Regions from separate parts of the Homo sapiens genome. Here region 2 is linked to region 1. The links are contacts of gene promoters, found by promoter capture Hi-C in blood cells and fetal thymus (Javierre and others, 2016). All regions are on one chromosome and are shown on one strand. The core of a region is centred on a gene start or on the middle of the fragment in contact, and the rest is flanking DNA. Distances in the headings are between cores, read along the strand shown. Region 1 holds the start of PITX1 (paired like homeodomain 1). Region 2 overlaps PITX1-AS1 (PITX1 antisense RNA 1).

Evidence for each region. The method cuts DNA at HindIII sites, captures the fragments that hold promoters and counts their contacts. A CHiCAGO score of 5 or more calls a contact.
Region 2: a contact is called between a fragment that was not itself captured here and the fragment with the promoter of PITX1 in region 1, in 4 of 17 cell types (M1 macrophages, M0 macrophages, M2 macrophages and 1 more). The highest score is 8.2, in M1 macrophages.

What each region holds. Positions count from the first base shown.
Region 1 is chr5:135,032,075-135,037,452 of GRCh38, forward strand. It overlaps PITX1 (paired like homeodomain 1), which reads right to left and starts at 2,154. Exons shown (of 3, transcript NM_002653.5): 1 at 1,639-2,154. The coding sequence starts at 1,807. PITX1-AS1 (PITX1 antisense RNA 1) reads left to right here and starts at 1,200. Exons shown (of 6, transcript NR_161235.1): 1 at 1,200-1,466. RefSeq lists an enhancer at 1,038-1,670. The HindIII fragment of the contact is 7,456 bases long and covers 1-5,378 here.
Region 2 is chr5:135,205,612-135,210,536 of GRCh38, forward strand. The region is part of intron 3 of PITX1-AS1 (PITX1 antisense RNA 1); the gene reads left to right. Among named protein-coding and RNA genes, the nearest start is that of LINC02900, 40 kb to the right of the region's middle. The HindIII fragment of the contact is 1,001 bases long and covers 2,838-3,838 here.

The DNA.
Region 1 (5,378 bases), core at 904-3,403:
TCGGGCTTTAGTCTGTCTCTCTTTGAAGCTACACAAAACACACGCAGTCATAGAAACATTAATACATAAAGAAAAAGAGTTTAAAAACAAAACACAGAAGCCCAGAAAAGCTCACAGCTCTATGCCTAAAGACACTGAAAGGGCCACAAATTCTCAAAATCAGACAGGAAGAAACACAGAGCAAATGTAAATTAAGAAGCCAGAAAGCTCCGTACAAACACACCCCTAACTAAATACAGAGCTGTAAGTGTATAAACTCCAGGTTGACAGAAGCATTTATTTCTCTGGGATTTAAAAAAATAATGTACCGTTGTAGATAGATTTTTAACTCCTTCCCAATAAGGCCCTTGTAGAGATAATTTTTAAATCCCAGAGAAACACATTATAGTTAGATAATTTAAATTCCCCAAATAACACCACTGTAAATGGATTTTGAGAAAATTCCGGAGAAACGCGCCATTTTGGATTGACTTTTTAAAATCTCCGGAAGAATAATGTTGCATGTAGATATTTTAAATTCCAGACCTACACTTCGTACGTTAATTCTTTCAGAATCGAAAGATACAGTTAAAATTAATTCATCCTCATAGATTTGGTTCAAAAAAATCAATATACGATTATATATCTCTCTAGGTTTTAAAAATAAAACCAACCAAAGACCGCGCTTAAAACTTTTGAAAACAAAAGTAGAGTTCAGCGTTGATTATGTTTTAACCAAGCAAACAACCTCTCAGAAAAATCACTTAGGGATGCAAAAGAGAAACAGATACTAAGAAAGTGGAGAGAAACATTCAGCTGTGTATTAAGAAATGAACGCAGAAGAGGCGCCCACACCGGGGAGCTCGGAGCCCCTCCGGAACCCGGCCGGCTGCGCTGGGCAGCGGATTCGCTGCCCCACTGCCCGCGCCGGCCACCCGCGGGCCCAGTTCGCTGCTGGAAAAAAGCTCCAGCTCGGACAAAAAAAGGCAGCGCGGAGGGAGACGCGCAGGAGCCGGGGCGGGGGCCAGAGCCGGGCTGCTCCGGGCTTCGGCCGCGCACGTGGGCCGGATCCCTTGATCGGCGTTCCGGCTGGCCTTGCTGGGAGTCCGGCCGCGCCTGTTGGCCCGCTCGCCCTCACCGTCCTCTGTGTCTCCCTTCTACTTGATGACCCCTCTCCCCCCGTTTACCCTTCCCGCCCGCCCCTTCTCTTTGGTCTCTTTCATTCTGTCGCCTACTGTCACGGTGTTAACCTCCCTCTCTGTCTCTCTGAGTGCGTTCTCTCGCCCGTCACCCCTCTTCCTTTCTCGGTCTCCTCCTCTCCCTTCGTCCGAGCCGCTCCTTAGCGCCCAGTTGCGCAAATCAAATTCTTTCCCGTTCTATTTACTCCTGATCAAGAGGGGCTGTCAGTCCAACCCTCCAGCTGTAGGCTCGTGCATCTGCCAGTCTCTTGGCGCGTGGGGACCGCGTGGAAGTGCCTTCGCGTGTGCGTAAGTTTCCGCGTTCACCGTCAGGTCGAGAACGGGAAAAAGAAAGCTCCTGACGCTTCTGGGGCGGAGAGGGAGCTTGGTTGCGCGGCGCGGGCGTCAGGCCCTGCTCCCAGCTCCCCGTGCTCCGCGCCCGGGTAGGCTCTGTGCGCGCCGCGCGGGGAACGGCGCTTACCTGGCAGCTCCGTGTCAGACGACTCGCTGGCGGAGTTCTCGAGCGGCTCGCGGGGGTCGGCGGGCCGGGCCAGGTGGAAGGCGGGCCCCATGTCATGGGGTGGCGGCGGCGGCGGCCGGAGCCCCTCCGGCAGCCGCTCCAGGCTCATGCCCCCCTTGAAGGCGTCCATGGAGGTGGGGACCGCGGCGGGCGCTCCAGGGGCCGGGGCTGGGCGCGCCCCGCCGCCCTGGCTGCGACCTGCGGGGACAAGAGCGCAGCGCCTAAGCGGCTGCCCTCCAGGGCTGCCGGCGCCTGCAGCGACGCCGTGCCCGCCCCATGGACCGCCCGGGGCTGCGGCGCCGGGCGGGCAGAGGCGGCGGCAGCTTCTCGCGACTGGGCGCCTGGCTCAGCGCTCCGCGCTGCGCTCCTGCCGCTCGGGCCTCAGCAGCCCGGCCGGCCCCGGCTCCGGCTCCGGCTCCGGCTCGCGATCCGGGGCCGGTTTCTAAGGCTCCGGACGGCGCCGGCAGAGTCTGTCTTAAAGCGACAGCGCGCACAGCCAGGTTCCAGCAGTCCCTGCGCCAGGGGTGCTGGGTGGGGTGGGCCTGGGTGGGAGGGGGCTGGGGAGGGAGCGAGCGAGCGAGGGAGCGCGGGCGGAATCCAGCCCCAAGCCGCCCGCGCCGCCGCGCCCTCACTGCCGCCCTCCCTCCCTCCCTGCCTCGCCCGCGCCCTCCCCCTCCGCAGCCACCTTCCCGCCGCCTCCCCGCCCCCCGCGGCCTCGCCGCGCCTCTCCCTCCTTCCCCGGTGACACACCGAGTTCTCCCTCGGCCTCACAAAAGAAACGCATCTGGCCTGCGAGTCCCGGGCGGCTCGTGCACACCTCAGGCCTCAAATGACTTGTTTCGCCTAGAATCAACTCCCGTCTCGGCCGCCTCGAAGTCCCCAGCCCTGGCGAGAACAGCCCAGGATGAGTGAATGTTTGCCGAACAGGATCGCACCGAGCGGGCGCCTTCGAGCCAGCGCCGGGGCGGGGGCAGAGCCCGGGGCCCGTTCCGGCAGCTCCCAGCGGTGTCCTCGTCGAGGGGCCGCCTGCCCCTCCTTCTCCAGCCTCTTCTCCCGGGAACTCAGCCCGGCTGAGTGACAGCAGCCTGCGCTCTAATGGGCCCCCGGATGCTGCCTCCTAATTAGCTTGGACCTTCTCCCCTACGGCTGCTTCTCAGGCCTCCCTCTCTGCACCGCAGTCAATTTTCCGGGATTGGGATAGAAATGATGGCTTCTAATCAGACGAAACGTTTCTGCTGGCTCTAGGCGTTTGGAGAATGCAGAAGGAAGACCCCAAGGATCCCAGCCAGACCCCACAGCCTCTTGTACCTCTCCCCTTGTTTTACACCTTAGGCCTTGGCCAAATGGGCCAGGCCTGGCCTTGGCAGGCATGGGGTTGGCCTTGGCAGCCTTTGCCCTCCTTCAGGGTAGCTTTGTCCCAGCCTGGGGCCTGCGTCCTGGCTTCCCAGGGCTTCAGGCATAGGCCTGGTAAGCCAGGTGACTGCTGTCTCCCAACCCTGGGCCAGCAGCCCAGGAAGCCCTCAGTCTTCCAGCTTCTCTCCCACACAGTGGTAGCTGAGCTGCAGCTCCAATGGGCCTTCACTGGGCACAGGCAAAGACATTACTCTCCCACTCCTAAGAGTGATTCCCTCCTCGAGTCCTTGCACGTAGGTGAAGTTTGTCGAAGGATTTTGCTCAACAATTGTTAGCTGGCCCCGAGACCTCAGCGTCTTGAGCAAACAGGCCACAGCTGGGGCGGCAAGGCGCCGCCCTGACCTGCTCCTCTGGCCATAGGCGGACCCCAGACTGCCCTCTGCCCCTCACCTGTGATCAGCTCCACCAGACACAGCAACCCAAGGGAGCTGCGCCAGGATTGTCTGCCTGGGAAAGAAGCAGGGAGGTGTCCAGTGTCCTCACCCCAAAACCCAGTGCCTCCTCAACTCCTGGGTGGGTGGCACTGACTGTGCAGGTATCAGCGTCTGGGGCACTCTGCAGGTTCTGCCTTTGAGTCCTCGTCTTACCCCTTCCCATCACAGGGAGACACCCAGGGTCAGCTGAGCTCCTTGTGGGGGCTGCTGGGGCCAGGGTCGGGCATGCAGGGTGGAACCAGGCCTGCCTTCCATTCCCTCCACGTTAGTCCAAAGCACCCCCACCCCTACCCCCATCCCCATCCCCATCCCCATCCCCATCCCCATCCCCATCCCCCGCTCTGGGCCGTGGAGAGACAGCACAGCTCCTTAGGGCCTGGTCCTTTCTCACTGTGGGTCTGTGACCACAGGATGCAGGGTCTGAGGCCAGAGGGAGGACACTTCTCAGGGGTTTGGATTGGGGAGGCTCAGTGACTCCTGCCTTCTTCCAAGCTGAGATCTCCCTCCATGAAATGAGTCTTGGCTACGGGGAGGGGAACATGGGGAAGCACAGTTGCCCAGCATTTGCCCTCAGCCCCACCGTTGCCATGTTTCTTGGCCACCTTTACCACGAGTCTCCTGCAGTAGAAGATCCCTCCTTTCAAGGAGATATTCAGGTGTTGCAGCGTGCTAGGGAGTGTCCCTTCACAGACCATTCTTTTTTTAGCTGTCTTACCAAAAAGAACAGCCTGAATGCAGACAGCATGGGGGCACGCACACACACACACATCCTGTACATCCATGCGGAGATGCTGTACACACACATGTATTCACTGCACTATGGAAGTGCTGAGTTTAGGCATATATGTGCTACTTGGCATGAACGCGGGCTGGCAGGGGATAGGAGGTGTGTTCTAACCCTGCCACATGTCAGGCCAAGGTGGGAAGCACAGTGCGTCTCTGGGTAGAGACTTAGAAATGAATGGTCTGTCTGTGGGCCTCTAGAGGAGGTTAAGACTCACAGCCTTCTCACTTGCCTTCTCACTTCCCAGAGGGACCAAAGTGACTCTTTGGGCCATCCCCCAATGGGGACTATTCTGTGAGCAGCACTCACTGCTTAGTCTGAGGGGCGTGTTTCCTCACTGTTAGTGCATTTAATGCAGTTATTGAGCACCTGCTGTGTGCCCCTCTGGGCCCAAACCTCTGGCAGGGCTCCAGGCAGGCACAATAGTCCCTTTATTTGGTGATCTTGATGCCTGCTGTGTAGAAGGAAAAGCCCTCAGACCATTTCAGGTGAAGCCCCATATCCTCAGGGGACCTGAGACCCAAAGAGGAGCTGGGGCTAGTGGGGCCTGCTGGCAGAGTCTGTTCTGCTGGGCCTGGGCAGCACTGAGTGATCAAGGAGTGAGGAGGCAATTGATTGTGAGGAGGCTGTGGCCTGATCTTGGGCGTTGGCTGGGGAAGGGACCTGGACATGCTCTCAATTCTTCCCCAGCTACACTCACTGGCCATTGTCCCAGTCAAGATAGGGGCTTCTTGCACGCTCACAGACACGTCACACATACAGGACAGAAAACAGCACTCTTTCAGGAGTAAGCAGAGGCTTTGTGTTCCCCCAGCTGTGCTATGTGACCTGTGTTTCCCTCAAGGTTAAGGCTTGATCTGCACTGTGCCTCAGTTCCCATGTCCAACACCGGACTCTGCCTGCTGCTTCAGCATCCAGCTCACTTGCTGATGGGACACGAAGAGAGGAGGGAAGGGGGCTTAGTGGAGCTGGAACCATGTGCCCTGTTCCCCACCCCTCCGTGACCACACAAAGCCAGCAATGATTCTCTGATTTTCAAGAATTTTGGAGTTTAGGGTCTTGGCTGGGCT
Region 2 (4,925 bases), core at 2,088-4,587, 170 kb after region 1:
GGGGAAATGCGCATTAAAAGCACAATGAGAGACACAACACATCAACAAGAATGACTAAAGTGAAGCAAAGCAACCCAGAAGATACCCAGGTGTTGGCAAGGATGTTGAACACCAGAAATCTCATACGCTTTGGATAAGTTAAACATATGTCTTCTTATGACCCAGACATTCCATTCTATGTGTACAACAAACAGAAATGCATACATATGAACCTCAAAAGACATATGGTATAATGTCCATAGTAATACCATTTGTAATAGCTCCAAATTGGAAACCACCCAAGTTCCCATCAAGAGTGCATGGGTAAGTGAATTGTGGTTTAAATTCATACTATGGAATACTATACCGTAGTGGAACTAAACAGTCCACAATTATATGTAACAATATGGAATGAATCTCACAAGTATAAAGTTGTCCTTCAATAAAAAGTAGAAACAAAACAAGGAAACCAAGGGACAAAAGTAGCTGGGTGAAAACTAGAAGCTGATGCTCAGATGGGAGGTATTCCTGTGGCTTTGTGTTTGTAACAAGATCCTCCACATTCAAAACAGGTTGGCAAGGACTTCCAGTCTTAGTTGGGCCCCCAGCCCACTGAAGGGGCCAACAGGGCCACCTGGCCAGCCTCTGAGCCGTGGTTCTGGGGCAAACAGGAGGGGGAAAGCCTTGGCCTGGATAAAATCTAAAAACAAAGACAGGGTCTCTTCACCATCAGAAGTTCTAGTTTTGAGAATTTCTTTTTGTTTTTAATTAAATTTTAATTACCCAGGCCATATAGAAATATAGTTTCTTGTAAATTTAAAACATACGATGTCTTGGGTTTGCCTTAAAATAATATAGGGCTGGGAAGTGGGTAGGCCCATGGTTGAAACAAGATTGACCATGAATTGATGATTGTTGAAGCTGGGAAATGGATACCTGGGACCTTGTTACGCTATTCTGTTTTTGCCTGTGCTTGAAATTTTCCATGATACAAAGTAAACACACGAGCATATAATTACTGCAAAGGCTAATGCCACTATAGATCGCCAAGCCTCAGCTACCAGTGCCTGCTGCTCTCTTCCTCCACTGCCCCCTCAGTGGATAACTTGAGTGTTGTCTTGGGAGGAAACAGATGGCACATTCTAACTAGGATAATTTTACTATAAGGACAAGATTGTAAAGTTGTGGGCAGGGGAATCCACAAAGCATAGTGCGGCACTCCAGGGCTTGCTACAGCAGAAAGCCTTTCTCACCTTAGGCCCAAAGAACAAGAACCTGGAAGAGGAGAGTGTGGGCACCTTGAAAGGAGCCATAATCTTTGGCTGAGGGAAGTGGCCAGTTTTTGGAGACCTCCTGGTGGGAGGACTGGGAAAATAACTACTTTTGCACCAACCTAGTAAGTATTCCAACCTCATTCTCTCCCCTTCCTTTGGTCTCCTGCTGGTGCTGCAAGGCAGCCCACTGATGCAGTTCATATAGAGCCACCTCCTGGGGCCCAGAGGGTGGATCGTGGCCCTGCAGGGGCAAGTGGAAGATATCTGATAGAGGGTGGGTCTTGTCAGATGTTTTTCCGTGCATTTACGTATGTGTCTATGAATCCAGAGACAGTATGTGGTTTTGTTTTCATTGCTTGTTTGATATCCATGGGATCATACAGCATGCTTCATTCACAACTGTGGCTCTTACTCGTCAGTGCCCCAGTGTTCTTCCTGTGCCAGTACATCAAGATCAGCCTTGTTCTGTTCTTGTGGCTGTTGCTGTTCCACAGTGTGAACATGATGTAGTTCATTTTGCCATTCCCTCTTGGCAGAACTTAAGTTGCTTCCTTCTTGAGAACTTGTTGTCTTCCCTCTGGGAGCTCTCTTGCCATCTTGGGAACATCTGGGAAGGAAGTTGCCATATGCAATATATCGTTTGCTCCCATGGAGTCTCATGCATGGCTGAAAGCTTTTTTTTTTTATTGTATATATTCTTTATCTGTCCAAACAGCCCTGATTTTTGGCAGCTGGGACTGGTAGGAAGAGAGTCAGGTGGGGAAGACAATGAGGACTAGATCAGGCACTGGAAGACTTGGGTTTGAGTTTGAGCTTTGCCACATTGTCACTTGTGACCTTGGGCAAGTCCCTTCGCCTCTCTGAACCCCAATTTTTCACCTGCAAACTGAAGATGATACTCATGCTTTCTCTGCTTGCCTTCCTGGATCCTTGTAAGGGTACCCTGAGACAAAGGATGAGAAAGTGCTTTGTGAAAATCTGCACAGATGCAGATATTCCTTCTACGCTCTGACTTGAAGTCTGGCCAGGAGACGAAGGCTTTTTGTTGTTGTTGTTTTTCTTTTTGCATGCTCCCAGCATAATCAAAGAAGTTGTTTGTTTGGTTTGGTTTTTTTGGTCTGAGTCAGAAGCCAGTAACAGTTTCAAAGTGCAAGGCTGGTGCTCCTCTCCTCCAAGCCCCTCTCTGCAGTGATGACAATGGGAGTGTTGCCAGGAAGCATACTGTCTCTCTGCCCCACCACCCCTGTGCCCTGACCCCCAGCTGTGGCCAGGCTCAGCTTCCTCGAGCGACAGGGCTACCCCAGACTAAGGACAATCTGACTCTGAACTTTTGGGCAATCTTTTCCATGGGCTAATTTGCTATAGGATTGCTCGTTTTTCCTGGAAGACCGAGTGGCTCTTAGGAGTGGATTTTTTTGTCCACACTTAGAAGACCAGCAAATGGTCTTTCCCTCTTCTGTACTCTGAATCAGAGAGGCAGTGTGTGCCAATGTCACCACCCCACAGACAAGATGACCAGCTAGGGAAGGGGTCTGTCTGTGTTCCTCACTTGTTCTGAATGCTCAGAACTCACCTTCTCCAGAAAGCTTCCTCTTGTAATGAACCACAGCTGATGTTTCTTGAGCACTTACTCTCTTCCAGGCATCATGCTAAGTGTTCTCCATGTACCATTTTGTTTAGTCCTCACCATAATCTTATTGCTGTCATCTCCGTTTTGTAGGTGAGAAAACCTAGGCCCAGAGGGTTTAAGCCACTTGACTGAGGTCACACAGTTAAAGGCAATTAGCATTCAAACCCCAGGCTCTCTAGAGGTGGCCCATGTCCTTGGACACTAAGTTCTATGCCCTCCTGGCTCACCCTGCCCTTCCCGATGTCACTCTGCCCTTGGTTGGGTTTTCTGTGTGATGACTCATAATATTTCTTACCCACATGTGCCTTATGCCCTAAAAGATAGTGAATGTATTTTCTGCTCTTTTCTCCCTCCCCAGAGTGACTGGGAAAGAGTTATGTATATAGCAGGAGCTTAGTGAATGCCAATTTCTTGTGAAAATCCCACTGGGGGTGCTGTTGGCAGGCCCAGCACACCAGGAAGGCAGCATTGGCCCTTTATGGAAGTTATCAGGAAGATGAATAAGGCTTGAAACGCGAGCCCCTGGCAGGCTGACTCAGACCCCACAGAATGGCTGGCCCTGGCCTTTGAAGAGCTGAGAGCTGTTTACATCCTACTAATGGACCTCGCTGGCTGCAAGCAGTCAATGTGGCTATATAAATACTCCAGCCTGGGGCCATGGAGTGAGTGAGGACATGAATGCGAGGAGAAACCCCCTCCTCAGCCTCATCTCCTCCTCAGTGAGGGATCCCTGGGCAGGAGAAGCCATGGGGACAGGAGGACTCTAATTTAGCAGGAAGCCCCACACGGCAGGCCTGTGCGTGGTAACAGAATGGTGTCTAGTTGATGATGTGGTATGTAGACGTTTCTCCCCACGTGAAGTTCTTTGCATAAATAAATGGTGACCAGCTGTTAGTCTTCCTATTAGCATGAACATCCATCACAGCTTGTTTCAAATCTAAGTCTGGGAGGGAGAAGCTTAGACTCCCATGAAAGGCAAATGTTACAATGGTAATCCAGCCCAGTCTGGCACACATCTGCTTAGAGAAACTCGCAAACTGGAAATGTTGGCTGGGATCTATATGGGGGGTTGGGCATGGGGTCTGATGTTCTCTGTAAGTGTCCCCACCCAGGGAGCTGCATTTTTGTCAGCAGGGAAGACGTGATGAGATCAGGCTCCCATTGGGGCCTGTCAACATGGTGCCGATGGCTGCTGTACTCTCCAGGGTGCCCTTCCCTATCTCCCACCAGTGACCCTGGCCCACAGCAGACCTTGAGAAGGTACAGGTAGGCTGGGAAGGGAAAGGTCTCCTCCCTTAGGGCTCAGACCCTGGCCTGCATGTTGTGGTCATGGACCACAGGCTGTTTGAGATGCCCTCTTCAGGGGTAGCTAGTGATAGGGCAGAATGTCACCATCGGTCCTATGGTGAGTTTTCTGGTGCCATTCTCTGTCTGTCCCACCAGTCTCTGAGAGGGAGGCAGGAGCCTGCCCTGCCTGCCCCATCCACACCTCCCCAACCAGGGAACCCCATCACTCCCTCTATTCATTGTGGATGATGGTAATTATTTTTAATATCTCTCCCTGGGAACTCAGTCATTCACCCACCCATTCTACAAACATTTATTTTGTACCTGTAGCGTACCAGGTACTAGGAATACATGGGTGAGCAGGACAGACATGGTGCCCATTTTACTGGAGCTGTTTCATTAGAGTGGGAAGGATAGTCAGATAAAGCACAAAGAGACTAAAAGACAATGGCAAGTTGTGAAGAGTGCTATTAAACAAATGGGATAGAGGGACCTAGTCTGGATACAGTGGCTTCTCTTGGGAGGTAACTCTTGAGCTGAGGCGTAAAGACTGGGATGGAACCCAGTAAGTGAGGAGCAGTGCAGATGAGGGACTAGCATGCTGCAGAGGCTCTGGGGTAGGGGCAGAGCTTGGTTTCCTTGTGGAATTAAAAACCATCAGTGTGGCTAGAGTGTGGTGAGTGAGGGCCAGCTAAGAGCAGCTCCTGGTGGAATTGCAGGCCGTGTGCCAGTCTTGTGGTTGTAGGAGCTTTGCA